Linked DNA regions of Homo sapiens: regions 1, 2, 3 and 5 are each linked to region 4. Evidence: promoter capture Hi-C in 16 types of primary human blood cells and fetal thymus (Javierre and others, 2016). All regions are on one chromosome and are shown on one strand. The core of a region is centred on a gene start or on the middle of the fragment in contact, and the rest is flanking DNA. Distances in the headings are between cores, read along the strand shown. Region 1 holds the start of CCNYL1 (cyclin Y like 1). Region 2 has its middle 6.6 kb from the start of FZD5. Region 3 holds the start of KLF7 (KLF transcription factor 7). Region 4 holds the start of RPE (ribulose-5-phosphate-3-epimerase). Region 5 holds the start of METTL21A (methyltransferase 21A, HSPA lysine).

Region 1 (2,700 bases), core at 139-2,638, 2.3 Mb after region 4:
CCTGACCAACATGGTGAAACCCCGTCTCTACTAAAAATTCAAAAATTAGCTGGGCGTGGTGGCGCACGCCTGTAATCCCAGCTACTCGGGAGGCTGAGGCAGAGGAATCGCTTGAAACCGAGAGGCGGAGGTTGCAGCGAGCCGAGATCGCGCCACTGCACTCCAGCCTGGGCGGGCGACAAAACGAGATTCCGTCTCAAAAAAACAACTTGTCTGCACCCCTGGTAATAACCTCTCACACCCTTCACAGTCATTTTACGCCCCTCCCCCCATTTTCTTTCTTTCTGTGTTCAAATTATAGTTGGAAGGAATAAAGCAGCTTCTTTCACGCCGACTTAACCTATTAGGAATACCATATAGTGTCTCCTATGGCAACCTCTATTTTGAGTCTAGATAAGAAATCCTCAAACATCTGGGTCTAAACTGTCGCGGGCATCAGCTATCTTCACGGATGGGAGGAAGGAACAATCAGACCCTTACCTGGTTCCTTCACTTAGGTACCATCTGGATGGGTTAAGGGAGGGAATGGGATGAGTACTCCGAAGTTGAGGTATTTGAGTTTCCATTGAGAAAAGGAAAACAATATACCCCAAAAGTCTTAGCAAAGTCCCACCAGACAATGAACAGAGCTACAAACAAGAAGGGCGGCGGACTAGAGGGTCCCACGCCGGCTTGGGAGAATGGGAAGCGGGAGCAAGAACTGGGCGTTACGGTAAGGAGGAGGAAAAGAAACTGGCCAGACGCAGCAGGGCAAGAATAAGGGGTGGGGACGCGAGGCAGAACCAGCCTTCGTCCCGGGGCCGGCTACCGGCAGGAAGGAGCCCGAGGCGGCGGATGCCTCCCGGGGGACTCTGGGGGAGGAGGCGGGCAGAGGTGAGCCCGAGGGCGGATGGCATCCGCCGCCTCCTTACCTTCGGGCATCTCGCGGTCGCTGATGTGCTGCAGGTGGTGGCCCTCGCCCTCTCCGAAATCCAACTCGGCAGGCTCCACCACAGCGGGCGCTACCGCCACCGCGTCCCCGGACACCGCCTCGTAGATGTCGGACGCGCAGTACAGCTCCGCCGACCCCGCGCGCCGGCCCAGCTTGGGGCTGGCATTGGGGGACACGCAACAGGTCAGCGTGTTCCCCATGGGAAGCCTCCGCTCCTCTCTGCCACCGCCTTCGCTCGCCCCCTACTCCGCCGCCCTCAACAGCCGCCCCCTCCCCCAACAATGGCGCGGCCGGCACCGGCAGCCCCGGGCTACGCTGGGGCTGCACCGCGCAAGCAGACGCCGCCTCGCCCGCGGTTCGCCCGCCCGCCCCGCGGCCCGGCCCCGGGCAGGGCTCGGGCCTCGGCCGCACCCCCACCGCCGCGCTGCCGCCGCCTCCCTTAAGCTGACTCGTCTGCGAGGGCGGTGACCAGCCCGGCTTATTTAAAAGGGGTGGGGAACCCAACAAGCGCTGTGAAGCACAGCCACTGCCGGGAGAGAGCGCGGCTGGAGCTCCTCCTCCTTCCGCCGCCGCCTACCGACTGAAGGCCGCTGGCCCTGGCCGGTGCCTGCCAACCGGAACGCGACCTGCGGTCACCTGGTTAGGAGGAACCAATCATGGTCAGAGTTCCCCCTCCGGCGCCCGCCTCGAAGCCAGGCACGTGACCTGCTGCCCCGCCCCCGCCTGGCAGCTGCCCAGCCCCTCACGCCGCTATCCCAGACTCGGGTTTTCATTCATCGCTGGCTGCTGGGAGCTTTCCGGTCCTACTGGAAGCGCACGGGCATTTGTAACTGGAAGCTGTGTCAATGATCTCTGTAGAAAGCCGTTATTAGTAAAGAGTTCGCTCCATTAGCAACTCTTCTTCCGAGTCTGACAGCTTTCGTTTGCTCACTAAACTTGGTTACACCCAAATTGTTAACTGTTTTTGTAACTCAGTGCTCCGCTCCTGTCTTCCAATGAGCGTTAGTTTTCACCTGCAACGTGATCATAGCAACCCTGGGGCCCTGGTCCTACTCTCCATAAAGAGTTGTGGCTGTGGGTCTTGAATGAGACTCGAGGACACGTCACCCTTCCACTTCCTCATCCATAAAATAGGGACCTAACTCGTCCCTGCCAACTCTGAAATGCTGGGACTCGCCAACTCCCTTTTCTTGCCTGTTTCTCTCCTCTAGGCAGGGACTTCCAGGTTTCTCTTCTTGTACTAAAAACAGCACAGAAAGCACGATTTTCTCACGCAAAACTGAGAACCATGCAGTGGGGCACCACAGTCTTGATTCCATGAAGATGAATAGTTACCATTTGGCAAGCACTATGTGCCAGACAGTGTTCCAACTGTGGTATATTTATTTAACCCTTAAAAACAATCCCGGCCGGGCGCGGTGGCTCATGCCTGTAATCCCAACACTTTGGGAGGCCGAGGCGGGCGGATCACCAGGTCAGGAGATCCAGACCATCCTGGCTAACACGGTGAAATCCCGTCTCTACTAAAAATACAAAAAATTAGCCGGGCATGGTGGCACGCGCCCGTATTCCCAGCTACTCGGGAGGCTGAGGCAGGAGAATCACTTGAACCCGGGAGGCAGAGGTTGCCGTAAGCCGAGATCGCGCCATTGCACTCCAGCCTGGGCGACCTAGGCTCCGTTTCAAAAAAATAAAACATAAAAATAAAAATAAATAAACAAATATATATATATACACACAATGTCACTTCCTCCCTAAGCTTGATTTCT
Region 2 (2,700 bases), core at 119-2,618, 2.2 Mb after region 4:
CTTGATTCTCAGTATTAAATTTTTCTTTGCTTGAAATACCTAGAGAGGCCAGGCGTAGTGGCTCATGCCTGTAATCCCAGCACTTTGGGAGGCCAAGGCAGGCTGACAGCTTGAGCCTAGGAGTTTGAGACCAGCCTGAGCAATGTGGCAAAACCCCATCTATACAAAAAATCAAAAATCAGCTGGGCATGGTGACACAGGCCTATAGTCCCAACTACCTAGGAGGCTGAGGTGGGAGGATCGCTTGAGCCCAGGGGGTCAAGGCTGCAGTGAGCCTTGATTGCACCACTGCACTCCAGCCTGGGTGACAGAGCAAGACCCTGTCTCAAAAAAACAAAAACAAACAACAAAAAAATAAATACCTACAGAGGTTTCTACTTCCTATACTAAACCCTGATGGACCGTCTAACCCATAGGCCAGCCTGGGTCTTCCCTGAACCACCAGGTTGTGCTAAGTGCCTCGTGTGAGCTCCCACTATGCCCCACATTGTAAGTTCCTGCCTTTTCATCTTGTGACCCTGGCACCAGTGCTTGGCTCACAGCAGGTGCAGAGTCAGTGTTTAATGAACTGAAGCTCCCTCTGCCAAGATACTGGGAGGTTCTATAATCTAGCTTAAGGGGCACTCCACCTCCTGCTTGCTCTGCAAAGCCCAAAGAACATGTTGCCTCTGGACGCTTACTGGATTCAAGATGAATCCCAGGTCCTCGACTTTTCCACGCTTGAACCACCCCGCCACAAGAGGCCACACCAGAATTGGAGAGTTGACCTGGTCCCAGGAAAAAGGTGCTAAGGAGCAAGAAAAATTGCTTATCTCAAGATTTACCATCTGGTTGTTCTTAGGGCCCTGTACTTGATGAATGGTTGCTGCTAGGCTGCAGTGAAGGCTGCAGTGAATGAGAGCATCGGCTTTGAGGCCAGGGAAACCCTCCAAGTTGGAAGGTGTGCAAGCTTCAGCAAGTCACTCAGCTTGTTTGAACCTCAGGTTTTTGTTTGTTTTCGAGACAGGGTCTCACTCTGTCGCCCAGGCTGGAGTGCAGTGCAGTGGTGTGACCATGGCTCACTGCAGCCTCAACCTCTGGGGCTCAAGCGATCCTCCCATCTCAGCCTCCTGAGCAGCTGGAACCACAGGTGCCTGCCACCACGCCCCACTAATATAAAAATAAAACCTTTTTTTTTGTAGAGCTGGAAGTCTCCCTATGTTGCCCAGGCTGGTCTCGAACTCTTGAGCTCAAGAGACCCTCCCACCTCAGCCTCCTAAAGTGCTGGGATTACAGGCATGAGCCACTCACCCAGCCATGATTTTTCATCTATAACATGGGAATGATAAAATCAATCTTACAGGATTCTTAGGCATAAAAAGGTATGCATAAAATGTCAAATGCTTAGTACAGTGCATGTACTTATGAAGTGCTCCATACTTATCAGTAGCTCTTGTAATGGTCATCATTGTTGTCACTTCATCACAATTCTGTTGCTTTATATAATTTTTCCTTCAGCCTAAACAGACTCGGATGCGATTAGCCTAGAATGCAGTTCTTTATACCTATTCCCAGTGTTCCATTTTACACACTGATGTGAATAACCCTCCTTGCAAAAGACTCAGCTAGGCCCAAGTCTGGGGCTGTACTGAGGAAACACCAAAACCATCTATGCCAGTGGTTCTCCACCCTAGCCAAAAACAGGGTTAAGACTTAAAAACAAAACCACCACCAAAACAAACAAATAAACCAAAACACATTTCCTGTCCCTCAACCAGAGACTCCGATTAAACAGGGCCCAAGCTTCAGTATTTCTAAAAGCTCCCCGGTGATTGCAATGCGCAGCTGAGGGCCACTGATCAGCGTGGCAAAGATTAGCCCAGTACTTCCATTACCCCGAGGAGAAAAAGAAAGCTGCTTTTACTCTTCTATAATCTCCACCACATTGTAGGAGAAGAGAGGACTGAAGATTACTGTTGAATTATTCCACTTACAAAAGATACTCTCATTATGAACCCAGGAAAAATGGCTCATTGTTTTAATCCTCTGGTTTGTGTCTCGAGGTATCTGATACGATGGGAAGAGCAGTGATCAGAGATGCTGTAGGACATGTTGGGAGCTAGTCTGGAAATACCTGTGAGGAACTTGGGTTGGCTGGTGGCCTCTATCCTGAGCCAGCAAGTGTGCACATACATGGTTACTGATAATCAGGAGTGTGCACTTTGATCCTGGGCAAGTGACACGATCCCTGCTTTGGCACTAAATTTACCAATATCTAAGTGCCAGAGATAGCTGGTGAGAGCCTGCAGTGTTCTCAGAAATAAAGTACACCTGGAAAAAAATAGTTATTTTTTCCCTTGTTAAAGTAATATACAAAAGAAAATACAGAAAACTGGAAAAACAGAATGAACCTTAGAAGAAACTAATAATAATAGCCAAGACCTATAGAGACTCAGGGGCTAGACATGGTTCTAAGCTCTTTACCATATAAATATACTTACTCCTCACTATAGCTCTGGGAGGTAGATAACTATTTCTAACTCTATTTTACAGAGAAGTAAGGGGGCCTGGAGCTGTTAGGTGACTTGCCCGAGGTTGCCTAGCTTGTAAAGGCAGAGCCAAAATTTGGACTTAGGCTTCATTTAACAGGACCTGGTCAACCTCAGAGGGAGAGTTCATCTGAATTCAAGGACTGAATGCCAGTTGCTAAAATTGAAAAAG
Region 3 (2,700 bases), core at 66-2,565, 2.8 Mb after region 4:
GCAGGGTTTTCATCTCAGATGTAACAGATCTCTCTATGTCTACATCCCAACTCCAGAAAACGAGAAATCGAGTTCCTCCTCTCACCATCGAAGCTCTGCAGACACCTCGCTGGAGACCCCATGGTGAGCCTCATCACGTAAAGGCCCCCTCGCAAGCTGCCGGCTCCAGCTTGCGCCCCACGTCTACCTAGGCTCCCTCTAGCCTCTTTAACGCACAGTCGAGCAACAGGCCCCTTGCAATCAACTCTAGCCGCCGGACTCCCGACCAGGTCTCTCGCTCGGGGTCAGAAGGAGGCGCGGGAGGGAGGGCGGCGGCGGCGGCGCCCGCGGGGCGGGGCGGGGACTGTGCGCAAGCGGGGGGCGGGCGCAGGCCGCGGTCTCGCTCCGCTCCCCTTTGTTCTCTCCCATTGTGTGGCACTTCCTCCTCAGGCGCTTCTTCTCTGCACCCTGGCAGCCCGTGGGGAGTTCGGGAAGGGGCCCTGGATGCCTTTTCTGCTTGTTTTTGAGTACGTGAGGACCTCCCCGGCACCGCCTCGCGCGGGTCCCTGCCCCGTGCCCAGGCGGAGGCGGGGTGGCCACTGTCCTTCCTTCCCGCTCCGCGCCCTCGGCGGCTTCCCCGCGGCCCCCTGCGCCGCGCCCCCTCCAGGAGGCGTCCTGACCCCGCACTCCGGCCTTTCACCTCCCGACCGTCAGCCTCAGGGCCGCCGCGGCGACGCGCGACCCCTTCCCTCTGAGGGGCGCGGGCTCCGGACGCGCCGGGCTCTGCCAGGCATCTAGTGGAGGGTCGGAGGTCGGCGACCAGCCCGAGCCCAGCCGTCCCGGGAGCTGGCGCGAGTGTCGCCACGACCCTCCCTGTCCCTTGCGCTCGCGCTGCCCGGCCGCCGGGCGGCCGCCTCAGCCCCCTTATATAGCCCTCTAAAAATAGCTCGCCTCGCACCGCCTTGTAAGGCAGCAGGGAGATCCGCAGCGTGCCAATCCGCGCCCGCCGCCAGGGCCAAGCCCCGCCCCAGGCTCTGCTCCGGGCTCCCCATTGGTCCTCAGTGACTTCATGAGCCCCCTGTTTACCTTACATGGTCACACGCGGCCTAATGGACGCCCTCCTCGAGATCCCACGGCTGCGCGGAGAACCGAACGGAGGGAGGGAGTTTGGGGAGGGGGAAGAGCAGGAGGAGGAGAAAAGGGAGGGGGAAGACTACAAACTAGCAAGGATGGGGTGGGGGGTGGGGAGGGAAGGGAAGGGGGGGGAAGAGAAGCGATCGCGAGAGAAAAAAATGCAACCTCCCAAAATAAAGAGCAAAGATTGCATTAGGAGCGAACAGCGCTGCAGAAATAGATGGCAGCTTCGTGTCAGTGAGTTTGCATCCCCCTTCCTGATCCACGAGCTGGAGTGATTAGAGCCCTGGAAGGGAATTGTTACTCCCGTGGAGAAGTCCCCTTTTCCTGGCAGTCGTCTGCACTGTACACGCTGGATGCCTCTCTCCATCCACCCCACTCACTCGCTCCTCTCTCACCTCCTCTCTCCCTCTCCTGCATTGATTTTTTTTTTTCCTTTTTAGTTGACTGAAACAAAACAAAACAAAAGGGCCACTGGATGTCTGCCTTCTTGGGGGGTGAGCCAGACAGACTGACAAACAAACAGCCCCAACTGTGTTCGGGGGAGGGTTTCGCCTCCCGTTTTGCCCGGCAGCAGCAGCATGGACGTGTTGGCTAGTTATAGTATATTCCAGGAGCTACAACTTGTCCACGACACCGGCTACTTCTCAGCTTTACCATCCCTGGAGGAGACCTGGCAGCAGGTGAATGATTTAAATTACTTGTGTAAATCGTGTGGTGGCGGCGGAGACGCAGGGGCTGCGTTGGTGTGGGCTCTGGGTTGAAATTTTTGTTTGTTTGTTTGACTTTTTTTTCTTCCTTTTTGGCTGTCTGTTGTTGAAAATGTTTTCTGAAACAGTCATCTGCGCTTACCTCTCCACCCACCCCTAACCTCGTAGAGTGCCGAGCTGAGCAGCCGGTGCGAGCTGCCTGCGTTTCAGTCGCCAACACACATCCCTGCGCACACGTTGTCGGGTTTGCTGTCCCCTATCAGAGACCTGCCGAACTTCTGGGGTTCGGAGGAGCCGGGTGGGAAGGTGGTTTGGGGTGTTAGGAGCGATTGCTGACAGGGACCACGTTCTCGCATGCATGAGCTCTACCCACTTGATACCTGAAATCAGGTTCATCTGTTTCAACTGGTGCTTATGACCATCGGATGGGGGGCGGGGGAGGGTGGGCAGGAGCAAAGCGGAGTGTTTTTCAGTAATTAGCGAGTGTCAATAAAGAATAGGAGCTTGATTTTGAGATTAGAAGGTAGGCAAAAGAGAGAAGAGCCCACTGACAAAAGATACTCAAGGAGGACGGGAAGATGTAGCTGAGGCTGACAATGAATTGTAGGTTTTCCCAGTGTGATCCCTCCAGAAAGAGAACACCCTCTATGCGTGTCCTTGTTTCTCTTTTTTGTTTAGGGTCCTTCTCTAGTTAGGCAGCACAACCTCGGACAAAGGCTGATGTGTGCTTCCATGCCTTTGACTTTGTCTTAGAGGACTAGTTAAGAAACTCCCAGGATGCTGAAGGGCACCGATGCCAAGTTGGCTAGCCGTCCCAGGGAGGATGAAGTGGGGCTGGTGACAAGTTCACTGGGCTTTGTGAAGTGGAATAAAGAAA
Region 4 (2,700 bases), core at 76-2,575:
GGCCTATTATTTTTAGTACTCTATGGTCAAAGTTTTGTCATTATCAGTTGGGTGGACTCCTAAGGTAACTGGGTAAAATGCCAAAGAGAAACAATACATTTAACCACATAGAGCAATGGAAGATAAAACTCTTCAAAGCCAGATTAACATTAAAAAGAAAAGGAAATCATCACCTTTAGAAAATAACACCAATTTGCAAACTGAATGAGGGAACACAGGGTTTTTACCTATTTAAAATAAATTTATTTTTCCATCCCCACTCAAGATAATGGTATTTATGATTTTTATAGTCAGTTAACAGTGGGGCTCAGAGAACTACTTGGCAAACCTAGGAAGAGCCAAGTTGCAAGTCTGTCACAATCTTCTGTAATCTTGAGGGAGTCTTACTGCTTTCTCTGGGGTTGTTTCCTCATTCTGTAACCAACTTCAGAAACTAATATCCTGACTCCAAACAATATTATGTGCTGTAACTACGGTGCTTAAAAATTACTTACAAAAAACTGACCTCCCTGAAGAGCAGGGTGCCTGAAGAGAAAATAGACAGGAAAATCAGAATTGTAATAATGATGTAATTAACAATTATAGAGAACTTAATATACGCCAGGCACTGTAAACTTCTCATGTACTCGCTCATTTCATCTTCCAAGATGCCTAAGCGGTAGGTTCTGTTAGTAGTTCCATTTTTCAAATTATGAAACTGAAGCTCAATGAGGTTAGTGGCTTGTCCAAGGTAACCCAGCAAGTGGCAGAACTCGGGAACCTAACCGCAGGTGCCAACTTAAATCGTTAGAGAAGTCTGTTTCCCCAGCTTTGCCACTAACTAGCTATATGAGCTTGGGCAAGTCATGCTTCTCCCCTTGGGCCTCAGTTTCTCTAGCTGAAAGTGAAGAAATGTCCTAAAGATTTAGGTCGCTTCCGGGTCCTAAGTGATGGAAGACCACACGTTACGTGGGGGGAGGGGAGGAACTGAGGTTTGGGACCCGGCCGCAACCCAGGATACCGCGTCGGTTCTGCTCCTGCTAGAGCCTCCAGGGCTCCTACCCCACACCCCTTCTAGCATCGCGTTCAGAGTGAGGCGCTCGGTGGTACAGGGACGCGGTACATCCAACAAGCAGTCAATAAAGGTGCACTGATCCGCCCCGCCGCGCGGCAAGCCCGACCGGAGCCCGGAGGAGTTACCCGTCCATTACGTCCAGGTGCAGATAATCGGCCCCAGAGTCTAGCATCCGGAGGCACTCGGCCCCTAAATTGGCCAGGTCGCTGTTGAGGATGGACGGGCCAATCTTGCAGCCCGACGCCATACCGCTGGCTCCCAAAAGCAAGTTACCCACGAGTCCCCGGCAAGGCTAGAGCGTCACCCCGATTGGGCGCGCAGTTTTGGCCCCGCCCCTTCTCCGTACAGGCTTCCGGATTCTACCGGAAGCAGCCACTCTGCGGTGAGGAAGTCCCGCCTCCTCCTGGGGTGGGGCGCTGTCAGCCGTCCGCCTGGGGCGGGGCGGGGCACACGGGCCTCGTACACCTGATTTTGACCTTCCTTCTTGTGCTGTTTGGATCTTAACGTCCTCGCAGTACTCAAGGCGTTTCTTAACCTTTTTTCACTTTGCTTCTCCTGCAGTTCCCTCTCCTCGGCTCTTGACTTAACATCACTTTTTGTTTCTCCACCCTTTGCATATGCCTTTCTTTCCTCTCCAGCGCCTATGCTGGCCCTTTAAAACAACAATTAAAAACCTTTCTTCCTCGTATTTCTCCTAGAGCTCTTCTTTTGAGCTGGAGGAACCCTGGCTCTGCCAGATACTAGCTGGGTGACCTGGCAAATCACTTCTTAACTTCGGTTTTCTCATCTGTAAAGACAGTGCCCAGCTTTAGGGTTGTATTAAATGAGTGAAGCCAGGTAATGCGCCCAGCAGGATGCCTGGTGCTCAGTACAAAATGGTAGTTATTATTATATTACCCTCTTTTTCTGCCTTTGCAGTTCCTCCTTACCTTTTTTGTTTTTCCCTCTGTTGAGGCTCAGAAAATGATAGCCCAAAGTGAAGGCCTCAGACGCAACAGTGTTTCTCTGACTTCCTGCCCTGCTCTCTTCTCAGTCTCATTCTAGGAGGCAGGTCATAGAAACTGGAGCCCATCTTCCCTAAGAAGAGTCATTGAAACCGGAACCCCCTTTCCCTGAAGCCAGACACAAAACCCAAAAGCATTACTCTAACTTTCCTCCACCTTTCTGTGTAAAAACTGGCCATAAATTATTTGACCCATCTCAACTGTAGGTTATAAAACTCCTCTTCTAGAGAAGGTTCTATCCCATATCCAGGAGGAGGGAATGCTGCACAGAGAGGCCAGGAATCTAAACTAGACTGGCCAAGGCCAGGTCAGTCTATTAGCATTAGATCGCCTATTTTGTCCAATCGTATTTCTACATGGCTGTCTATACTTTGTTGAACCTAAGTATAAAAATGGGTAATCACCCCTGTACCTTTGGGTCTTCATTCTGAAGGCTCCTGTGTCAGGTAAAACTATAATCAAATAAGTTTTTATGCCTTTTCTCCTGTTAATCTTCTTTCTGTCAGTGATTTTCAGCAAACCTTTGGAGGGTGAAGGGAAAGTTTTCCCTTGGCCCCTACACCTCTCCAATGCTCATTCACAAATTGTGATAGGTTTGTGTGCTGTTCACACACAGTTCAGAAATGGATGAGTATCCTGATG
Region 5 (2,700 bases), core at 101-2,600, 2.4 Mb after region 4:
GGCGGCGGGCGCCTGTAATTCCAGCTACTTTGGAGGCTGAGGCAGGAGAACTGCTTGAACCCGGGAGGTGGAGGCTGCAGTGAGCCGAGATCGCGCCACTGCACTCCAGCCTGGCGACAGAGCAAGACTCCGTCTCAAACAAACAAACAAAATCCCACAAAAATTAGCTGGCGTGCTGGCGCAGGCCTGTAATCCTAGCTACACGGGAGAATGAGGCAGGAGAATCGCTTGAACCCGGAAGGCGGAGACTGCAGTGAGCCGAGTTCGCGCCCTTGCACTCCAGCCTGGGCGACAGAGAGAGACTCCGTCTCAAAACAAAAACAAAAACAAAAACAAAAGCAAAAAACCAAACAAAAAAATCAGCGCTCGGGCCCCCTCCCATGGCCAGCTCTTGGGGCGGGGGACTGGTAAGGGAGGTTTACCCCAGCTGGTTCTAACGTGCAGCCGCGCTGAGAGCGCAGCGGGCGGTGTGGGGCGAGGGGCCCCAGGAGGAAAAAGAAGCCTGCCCCGGGAGGATGCCGGTCCCCGCACGGTCCCACTCAATGGACCCACTCCAGCCGCGCGCTCTGCCAGGGCCTGCGGCCAGGGTACCAGGCCCTCGGCACCTTCCACGTCCAGCGTGGGTCCTCACGGGCAGGTGCGTCTTGGCATCGGGAGGAGGGAGACTGGGGCACTGGAGTCTGCAGCGCCGCCTGGGGCCGGGGCTGGAGCCGAGCGCACGCCCAGAGCTCCGCGCTTCCGACTGCAGCCAGAGCCCGCCGACCCCCGCCCCACTTTAAAAACTTGGACTCGGGCGCCACGTGTTCACTTCCCCCACTGTGCTTTAGTTGAAAAGGGTTTTGTGACTTTTCCACTCGATTGCCGCCAAGCGGGCTATTACGCCGCTTCTGACCCCACCGTGGAGACGCGGGGACTAGAGTGACCATGCCTTCTTCGGAGCGAGCTGTCTCCATCATCCGCTAACGCGCCACCTTTAAAAAACAGGCACAACGCGCAAGCGACAAAGTCAGAGGCAGAGAGCGGCGGAGCACATGATAGAAAAGGTCGAGAGGCACATTCAGCGCCAGGTGGGTGGCTTTTCTCTCCCGCTAGGAGAGCCCAGGGCACCCCATGCTCTCCCTGTGCACCCGCGGCAGTTCGGCACCCCGATCTCACTCTTGCTCCCGCCCCCACAGCGCCTCCCTCGGCGGCGGGGGAAACGGATTAAGTCGTCCGTGTACCCTGGGGACGCACGAGGGAAAGCCCCGGTCCCCCCTCCCGCAACGTCACTCCTCCACCGCGCCACGGCCCGGCCCCGCCCTCGCCGTGAGCTCCGGGGGCACCTGCCGGAGGCTGGGTGCCGGGAGACCGGAAATGCGTGGCTCCGGGCCGGGGCCGCCCGCCCCCGCGTCGCGGGCTCTTTAAGGCCGGCGGTTTTCGCAGCCAGCCCGGGGCGGGGAAAGCGGAGCGCGCGCTCCACGCGGGACCGCCTCCCGGGCCGTAAGTACCGGCGTGGCGGCGCCTCAGCCCGGCCTGGGCGAGCCCTGGGTGCTCCGCCGGGCAGCTCACGGCGCCCCGTATGGCCTGGGGATCCTAAGAGGCCCTGTGACCCCCCTCGCCTGGTCTCCCTCTCACCCCTGGAGGGTTGCCGCAGCTCCGGGGCCCCCGGGCAGGAAGGGCGCACTGGTCGTCCCGGGAGAGGGGTGAGTGGGGGGCAGCTATAGGGGGAGTTCGGGGAGGCCTCCGAGTCCCCGCTGTCCCCGCGAGCCGCTTGGAGGCCCCCAGTGTCGCTCACTTCCAGGGTCGGGGAGACGGAACTGCGGCGACCATGTATTTCTGGTTTATCAAACCGCTAACACCCAGTCTAAGGGCAGGTTCTGTCCCATTGTTATCACTATCGAAGCAGCCGATGGAGGAGGGGAGGTGGGTAGCGAAACCGTAGCGAAAGAACCCGGGCCGCCCGGCTGGCTGCAGCTGCAGTCCGGGCGCCCGGGTCTGGGTTGGAAGCGCTGCTTTCCGCGCTGCTCTGGGGCCCTGGGCGATCACCGCCGCTTCCGCCGCTTGTGTAGTTCTGAATTCACGGAGTGGTAGCAGTGCAGTGTATAGGGTATTCTGCGGAAGTTGGAATGTTCTGGGCTTTTTTTTTCTTCTTCCCCAAACACATCCGTTGACACAAATTCCGAGCCAAATCTCACTCAGATTCGGAAGAGCCATGCAAAAGAAATTGGACAAAGGCTTCCTCCACCTGTTTCTTTTTTTCTTTTGAACTTGTAAACGACCTTAAAAGCATTTGGAGTTAGTTAAGAACAGATAATGTATCTTTTGGCCAGAGCGTCACCCAGGATTCTTTTGCACGGCAGGTCTGAGCAGAGGGCGGGGTGCAGGCGGAATGGCCCTCGTGCCCTATGAGGAGACCACGGAATTTGGGTTGCAGAAATTCCACAAGCCTCTTGCAACTTTTTCCTTTGCAAACCACACGATCCAGATCCGGCAGGACTGGAGACACCTGGGAGTCGCAGCGGTGGTTTGGGATGCGGTAAGTAAGCCCTGGGGGACCTCTGAAAACGTTCACACTTGCAAGACTGGCTTTTATTTTTTATTTTTTTTAGAACAGCTTTATTGAGATATAATTCACATAGCATACACTTTACCTATTTAAAGTGCACAATTCAGTGCGGTTTTAAAAATACAGTATATTCACAGAGTAGTGCAACTATTACC

The links. The method cuts DNA at HindIII sites, captures the fragments that hold promoters and counts their contacts. A CHiCAGO score of 5 or more calls a contact.
Region 1: the fragment with the promoter of CCNYL1 here is called in contact with the fragment with the promoter of RPE in region 4 in 1 of 17 cell types (total CD8 T cells); the score reaches 6.4 in total CD8 T cells.
Region 2: a contact is called between a fragment that was not itself captured here and the fragment with the promoter of RPE in region 4, in 1 of 17 cell types (neutrophils). The highest score is 6.9, in neutrophils.
Region 3: the fragment with the promoter of KLF7 here is called in contact with the fragment with the promoter of RPE in region 4 in 1 of 17 cell types (M0 macrophages); the score reaches 7.0 in M0 macrophages.
Region 5: a contact is called between the fragment with the promoter of METTL21A here and the fragment with the promoter of RPE in region 4, in 3 of 17 cell types (total CD8 T cells, M0 macrophages and monocytes). The highest score is 8.3, in total CD8 T cells.

What each region holds. Positions count from the first base shown.
Region 1 is chr2:207,710,328-207,713,027 of GRCh38, reverse strand. It overlaps CCNYL1 (cyclin Y like 1), which reads right to left and starts at 1,388. Exons shown (of 10, transcript NM_001330218.2): 1 at 912-1,388. The coding sequence starts at 1,131. RefSeq lists silencers at 565-724, 737-846, 1,267-1,716 and enhancers at 588-1,584, 1,937-1,986, 1,997-2,196. The HindIII fragment of the contact is 3,390 bases long and covers 1-2,692 here.
Region 2 is chr2:207,775,169-207,777,868 of GRCh38, reverse strand. No RefSeq gene overlaps it. Among named protein-coding and RNA genes, the nearest start is that of FZD5, 6.6 kb to the right of the region's middle. The HindIII fragment of the contact is 833 bases long and covers 952-1,784 here.
Region 3 is chr2:207,164,563-207,167,262 of GRCh38, reverse strand. It overlaps KLF7 (KLF transcription factor 7), which reads left to right and starts at 1,315. Exons shown (of 4, transcript NM_003709.4): 1 at 1,315-1,796. The coding sequence starts at 1,695. It overlaps MIR7845 (microRNA 7845), which reads right to left and starts at 863; the gene lies at 765-863. RefSeq lists enhancers at 1-179, 180-887, 888-1,596, 1,604-1,703, 2,305-2,700 and a silencer at 474-1,113. The HindIII fragment of the contact is 8,010 bases long and covers 1-2,700 here.
Region 4 is chr2:210,001,263-210,003,962 of GRCh38, reverse strand. RPE (ribulose-5-phosphate-3-epimerase) reads right to left here and starts at 1,325. Exons shown (of 6, transcript NM_199229.3): 1 at 1,180-1,325. The coding sequence starts at 1,301. RefSeq lists enhancers at 1,057-1,226, 1,267-1,316. The HindIII fragment of the contact is 5,690 bases long and covers 1-2,700 here.
Region 5 is chr2:207,624,044-207,626,743 of GRCh38, reverse strand. METTL21A (methyltransferase 21A, HSPA lysine) reads left to right here and starts at 1,350. Exons shown (of 4, transcript NM_001127395.5): 1 at 1,350-1,682; 2 at 2,340-2,515. The coding sequence starts at 2,369. RefSeq lists enhancers at 1-179, 180-884 and a silencer at 1,155-1,754. The HindIII fragment of the contact is 10,824 bases long and covers 1-2,700 here.